Regions from separate parts of the Homo sapiens genome. Here region 1 is linked to region 2. Evidence: promoter capture Hi-C in 16 types of primary human blood cells and fetal thymus (Javierre and others, 2016). All regions are on one chromosome and are shown on one strand. Each heading gives the region's core, a stretch centred on a gene start or on the middle of the fragment in contact. The rest is flanking DNA. Distances are from core to core; before and after follow the strand shown.

Region 1 (3,416 bases), core at 640-3,139, 910 kb before region 2:
TTTGTGAAAACTCTTTTGGCAATTTAAAGGGAGAACATATTTACTTCTTAACATGTTCAAAGAACATTTATTCAGATGCCTACTGAGTGCAAAGCACTGTGGTAAGTACCTAAAAAACTAAGAGTCCTATTCAAAAGCTGCTCTTAGAAGCTTCTGGATCATCTTTCTGTGCTGTTGAAAAAGGCCATCCTAATGAAGCAAAGAACAATTACCTAAAATATCTCTTAGAGCCTGCTTTAGACATTTGATTTCTTATGATTTAAAAAATGTATCCACATATATGAAGAGAGAGAGAAAAAAATAAAATTCATGGCCAATGTAGAAAAGAGGAGGATTACATCCTGATTTGTGATATAAAACATTAGGAAAGAGAAAACAGTTTTTACCAAATGTGTTTCCACCTAGGATTTTTTTTCCAAAGGTAATAATTAAACTAAAGTTATCTGTCTTGCTGCAGACAAATTAAAGTGTATTTTTAAAGCTTGCTTTCTTAAAATGTAAGTAAACATTTTGAAGCTCAAAGCCATTTGAAAAACACAAACATTCTAGTTTGCTAAGAGAAAGAATAGTCATCTACACTGATTTTCATGCCCAGTCATCTGTTTTGCCTCCCATATTAATGACCTTACCATTCACTTAGCTTTCCAAGCTAGCACACTTTGAGTCATCCTCAATTTCTTCCTCTCTCACCCCTTCCTACTTAGTCACTGAATCCTATTGTTTCTACCTTTGGAATATTTCTCAAATGTGTACACTTCTGTTCCATTGCTATTCCTTTTGTTTGAGGTCTCATTTCTCTCTTGGACCATGGTAATTGCTTATTTAGTCTTTTACAGATTCTGTCAACAAATATTTATTGAGCACTCACTGCTATTATGTTACCTATGTTATTAAAACCACCACATTTTAATCTCCTGTCTAGAATTACTGCATGAACTCTAGATCCTATATCCAGCTATTTATTTGATATCTCCATTTAGCTGTCTCATTAGCAGTCTAAACCTAGCTCACCTAAAGCAGAACTCAAAATTCGCCCTCGCTGCTCCCCACCCTCAACACCTCCTAACTTTTTCTCTCTCATTTTCTTCTTTTTAGTAAATGGAACTATCAGGCTTCCAGGAGCTCAAGAGACACCCCGAGAAACATCTTTGATTCATCCATTGTTCACTTCCTCTTATTCAATCTTTCAGTAAATCCTGTTGATTTGACTTCTAACATCCATCTTGCCATCACTTCTTTCCACCTCTGGAATCAGACTACCTGGTTCAAATCTGAGTACTATCACTTACTATGTTACCTTGATTTCAAATGGTTTCAAAATCAGACTTTTCAAAGGGAAAAAAATGGCATCATTTAAAAATTCTAAAATGTGCCTTTACTATCAAGAGCCAAAGTATAAGGACAGTGAGGAAACGTGTGTTCCTAGTCTTTTTATGTCTTCTAAACTGGCTTTTTTTTTTTTGACAGAGGAAAGATAGGGGGATTTCTAGATACTCGTTAGGAGTGGAATTAATGGCTAGGAAAGAGTTTATAGTCTGCAGTTTGGTGTTTGGTCAGCACCTCACGATGATTTATTTATTACTGGCATTTATTTGGTGGGGGCAATGATAGAATTGTCTTGCATTCACGTGACTTGCAAATATCGCCCTACATTCAGAAACTGGATTATCCTTTGATGTATAGTAGGATTTCAAGATACAAGTTATGTTTTTTGAGATATTTTATTTTATTTATTTTATTTTTATTTTTATTTTTTTGAGACGGAGTCTTGCTGTGTTGCCCAGGCTGGAGTGCAGTGGCACGATCTAGGCTCACTGCAAGCTCCGCCCCCTGGGTACACGCCATTCTCCTGCCTCAGCCTCCCAAGTAGCTGGGAATACAGGCGCCCGCCACCACGCGCGGCTAATTTTTTGTATATTTAGTAGAGACGGGGTTCCACCGAGATATTTTATGTTATAGAGAAGTATTTTGACCAGACATTTTTTTAAAAGCCTAGTTAATTGGGGAACATTATACTTCCCCAATTTCTTCACTCTAAAAGTCTATAATTTGTCTGGGTGTGTGATTGCTTCAACCAAGGTTTTTCTCTCCTTTTTCTTATATGTCAATTTTTAAGTCAGAATTATTCTTACTTAGCCTATCACTAATTTTAATTCTGGTGTCCACAAACACCTCTGCAATTTTTTTTTTTTTTTTTTTGAGACGGAGTCTCGCTGTCGCCCAGGTTGGAGTGCAGTGGCGCGATCTCGGCTCACTGCAGGCTCCGCCCCCGGGGGTTCACGCCATTCTCCTGCCTCAGCCTCCTGAGTAGCTGGGACTACAGGCGCCTTGCTCTTTTATTTGCTTCTTGAAAAGAATGTCTTGTGCTCTTACTTCTCTATGTCCAAACTTGAGATAGTTAAAAGTCATAAGCATCTGCGAACTTCTTTATGTTGTCTACAGTAGTCAGGTCTCAGCATTTACACGTTGCAATACACAGTGTTTTATTAATTACTTTCTTTTCATGTTTCATTTACATTACAATTAGAGCATTATGTTAATTTCTGAGAAATTGTGTGTAGGTAGATTCTATTATCTATGATGCTTAACTTGAGATCATTAAAGGGATTACTTCAAAACATTTGTTTAATAAAAATGAGTGCTCCATCTGATGGGGTTAAACATCACTGGTTTCCATGCTAACAGGCCCTTGAGAAAGGGCCACAGAAGAGCTGAGGTGGCAGACAGAAGTGGGCTCGCAGTTCAGTGGAGGAAGATGTAGAGCATGTGGACATGACAGCTTAGATTCTAACAAGGCAGCAGAAGACCCAGCAGAAATCCAGGCTTGCACCTGCGATCAGGTAGGAATAACTGCACATGGAGGGGGTGAGGGGGAGCAGCAGGAAAAGGAAACTCCCCTGCAGACCACAATTCCCTTAGCCAGTACGAAAGGGCTTAGCTCACTGCAGGAAAAAGCAAAGAAGAAGGGGAGGGGAGAAACATGAATTTGACTATTTATTCCAAAGATACAGAGGTTAACTCAGAAGTGACTGAATTAACGTAAGTTGAATGCTTCTCATTTCCCTCTGTATCAGGCAATAGAATCTTAAAGGCAAAGTCTCATTTTGTTATTTGAAAATGAAGAAGTGAAATCTTTCCATACTAGGCCCGTGGACTTGTGTCTGTAAATTATTTTCCCCACCATTGCCAGCCTATCCCAAGTCCCCACCATCTCTTGCCTGGAGAACAACAGCCACTTCCTAACTGATTTCTCTGCTTTCTCTTTTGTCTTTCCTAATCCATTCTTCATGGATCCCAGTAAGCTTTTAGTATCAATCAGTCCTGTCATTTCCTCAATGACTACTTTGCACCCACTATCATGGCTCTGACCCCAAACCTCCCTCTCTTTCATTTCTCTATCATTTGTCTGTCTGGAG
Region 2 (3,328 bases), core at 504-3,003:
GCAGATCAGCTTTGTTGGATAAGTTAAGCTCATTATCCAACAATGCCTGTACCTCTCCCTGCTCTCCTCCCTCTCCCCCAGACTCCCTGGGTTTTTCTGGTTCTGCTCCCATGCTGAGGTCACAGTTGGTTCTTTCCTCCTTTTCCCAAGATGCCAATGGACGAGGGAGGTGCACAGTTGGAACACTTAATCTGTTACCTTCTCTCCAGAGTCCTTGGAAGCTCCAAAGCTGGGGTCACTTTGGGTTGTCAAAAAGAAACTTAAGTAGACCTTTCATTCACAAAGACTTACTTCGATTTCCCAGTCTACATATTTGAAAACTAATTGTACTTCATACTGGTGGAAAAGAGACCAATTCTTAAAACAGGTAAATTTGTGACTGGGTAAGTGCTGTCCTCCCTGGTCCCTGAAGGAATCTTTCTCCCCAACCCTTCTGGGAGCCTCAAGGCTCTTCCCTCAATCCCCACTTTATTGTTTTTTGTTTGTTTGTGTTATTATTGTTGTTGTTGTTTTGGAGACGAAATCTTGCTCTGTCGCCCAGACTGGAGTGCAGTGGCCATGATCTTGGCGCACTTCAACCTCCACCTCCTGGGTTCAAGGGATCCTCCTGCCTCAGCCTCGGAGTGGCTGGGATTACAGGCCCGTTCCACCACGTCTGGCTAATTTTTTGTATTTGTATAGAGACAGGGTTTCACCAGCCTGTTGGCCAGGCTGGTCTCGAACTACTGACCTCAGGTGATCCACCTGCCTCAGCCTCCCAAAGTGCTGGGATTACAGACGTGAGCCACACACCCGGCCAATCCCCAATTCGTTAAATAAGAATCTGCAACTCAGTTTCCCTGAAGACTATTAAGAGGTCATGTTGATGCAGCCCAAAGATATGGTTTTGCCTATTTATTCTTCGGGAGAAACAAATACAACTTCTGAGAGCTCGCTTCAGAAAAATGCATGCATGGACACGCAAATATTATACATACAAGTTAGAGGTTTAGAGACCATTACAAGCTAGTTCACGAATCCATAGCAACGAAACAAAAAACAAGACAGAGAAGAAAGACATTTCAGGGGAAACATTTTCCTCGCTTGTTGGGGGTGGGGGTGGGGCAGAGTCTTTGGTCGTTTCCAACACCACACAGTCCACCACGATGCAGGGTGAGCTTTGAGAACATTCAGCAGGGCGGTGATCAATGGGGTGAGGGATTAACTCTGTTTGTCTCCTAAGCACTCTCCCTGCCCACCTCCCAGACCCCTCACTTGGGTGTGAAAAAAAGTGTGAGATGAAATCAGAGATCCCTAACTCCCCCAGTTCTCTCCAAGTCAAATGTCTTCTCGCCCTGGGCTTTTTGTTCCCTAAAATGAAACTTCGCCTCCCGCCACAGGATCTGGGGTGCTCCTGCTGCCTCCAGAGAAGAAGGGGGCGCTGCTCCGTCCGACCCTGCCTGCTGCAGGGACGTGCGGGGGTGCTCTTTCCCCTGCTCCTCGGGCACCTCCCGTCTCCCTCCGGGTCAGGGCAGGGTCCCCTATACCCGCTCCCTCCGGCCGGTGGGCCCCGCTCCCCGATCACGCGCGGCTCACCTGGCAGCCCCGGCGAGGCGGACATGCGCCCAGCGTGCCTGTGCAGCCTAGTTGGTCCCGGACCGCAGACCTGTCCCGGGGAGGCTGCGCACCGCCCCGCCCCTCCCACCCCTCCGAGGCCCAGCGAGCAAGTGCGTGTTCTCGGGTCCTCGCCCCGAGCAGCCTGGCCAGCAGCATCCCGCCTCGCCCACTTCCCAGTAGACACAGGGACAGCGGCTTCCACTCCCGGGACCTCTGGACATCCTCCATCCCGGTTTGGCGGGAAACTGACCCAGGAGAAAGTGTTTGCAGAGGTTCCAAAAAACCAGCCCGGCGGGAGGGTTGTTGCCCCAGGAGGGTTGTGGCCGCCTTGTCTTGGTCCAGAAATTTCACCACTCTCCTACAGCCCAGTGCCTCTTTTTTTTTTTTTTCTTTTGAGAAGGAGTCTCGCTCTGTCGCCCAGGCGTCCAGTGCCTCTTATTTAGCGTGGGATGGAGGCGACTTACTGAAGCGTTGTCATTTCCCTGTATCCAATTACAACCCTGCCCTCCAGCGCTTAGCAAGGTGGCTTAAAAATAGTTTCTATCCCTGCAAAGAGCGTTTGTCTGTATCTCCAGATCTAGGGAGTAGGTTGCCTTCTTGCTACATAACTTAGGATTCGCCTTTTCTCTTCTCTGAACCTCAGCCACATCGTCCAGTATACTAGCGCCTCCCGAACCGTTGAACTTCAAGATCTCTTCCAGCATCAAAGAGTTCACTGTATTAGCGAATGGGGGTGCTTGGAGAATGCCCCTCTTCGCTCTTCCATGGACGGGCATTGAATGTCTCTTCTGCACTTCCATGTTGATGGGCATCAAACACCATGTATAGCCCATCCTCTGGGAATGCCAGCCAGCAGGAGCAAGAATGTTAGGTTAGGTGTCCCACCAGGGCCCAGGTGGAAAGATTCCGCCCTGGCTGATGGTTGGGATAGCCCTAGTTAGGCATTTTTATTATCATGCTTATCATTTTGATTATTTGAATTCCAGCCTCTCCAGGAAAATATTTTGCATTAGGAGAAAAAATGTTCTCTAATTTTACTATGTTTAATCATTTTTTCAATTCTTCATCTGGAAATAGTTGACCCTGTTTTGTTCCCACCTATGCATTGATCAGACATTTGCTGTTTGATTATTCTGTGTCAAGCACCGTGGAGATATTGAAGAATAATACATAATCTTTGCTTCCAGGAGCTGATGTCTTATAGGAAAACAAGAAATAAATTAAAAACATGATTAGGGCTTGCCACTTGTAAATAAGGGGCTGGGAGGGGACTAAACCCAAATGAAGGCTTTCTGAAGTAAAAGACATCCCAGTGTTTTTCCATGGTGAGCAGGATTTCCAGCTAACGAGGAAATGACTTAAAGAGGTTATTTGAAAAACAAGTACTGGGTCCTAGAACTCTAGACATGGAAAGGACATTTAAAAATATCCAGTCCTGTAAAGTTAAAATTGTGCAGGTGCTATGGAAAAAAAAAAGTATAATGGTTCCTCTAAAAATTAAAAATAGAATTATGACACAAGCCAGCAATTCTGCTTCTGGGAATATACCCCAAAGAATTGAAAGCTGAGACTCAAACGGATACTTGCACACCCATGTTCATAGCAGCATTATTCACAATAGCCAAAATGTGGATGCAGCCCAAGTGCCTATCAATGGATGAAGAAAATGTGATGTATACATTCCATGGAACATTATTCAGTTTTAAAAATGAAGGAAATTCTGACACATACT

Evidence for each region. The method cuts DNA at HindIII sites, captures the fragments that hold promoters and counts their contacts. A CHiCAGO score of 5 or more calls a contact.
Region 1: a contact is called between a fragment that was not itself captured here and the fragment with the promoter of OXGR1 in region 2, in 1 of 17 cell types (endothelial precursors). The highest score is 5.3, in endothelial precursors.

Annotation. Positions count from the first base shown.
Region 1 is chr13:96,082,172-96,085,587 of GRCh38, forward strand. No RefSeq gene overlaps it. Among named protein-coding and RNA genes, the nearest start is that of HS6ST3, 6.2 kb to the right of the region's middle. The HindIII fragment of the contact is 2,821 bases long and covers 480-3,300 here.
Region 2 is chr13:96,992,723-96,996,050 of GRCh38, forward strand. OXGR1 (oxoglutarate receptor 1) reads right to left here and starts at 1,754. Exons shown (of 4, transcript NM_001346194.2): 1 at 1,576-1,754. The HindIII fragment of the contact is 5,494 bases long and covers 1-3,328 here.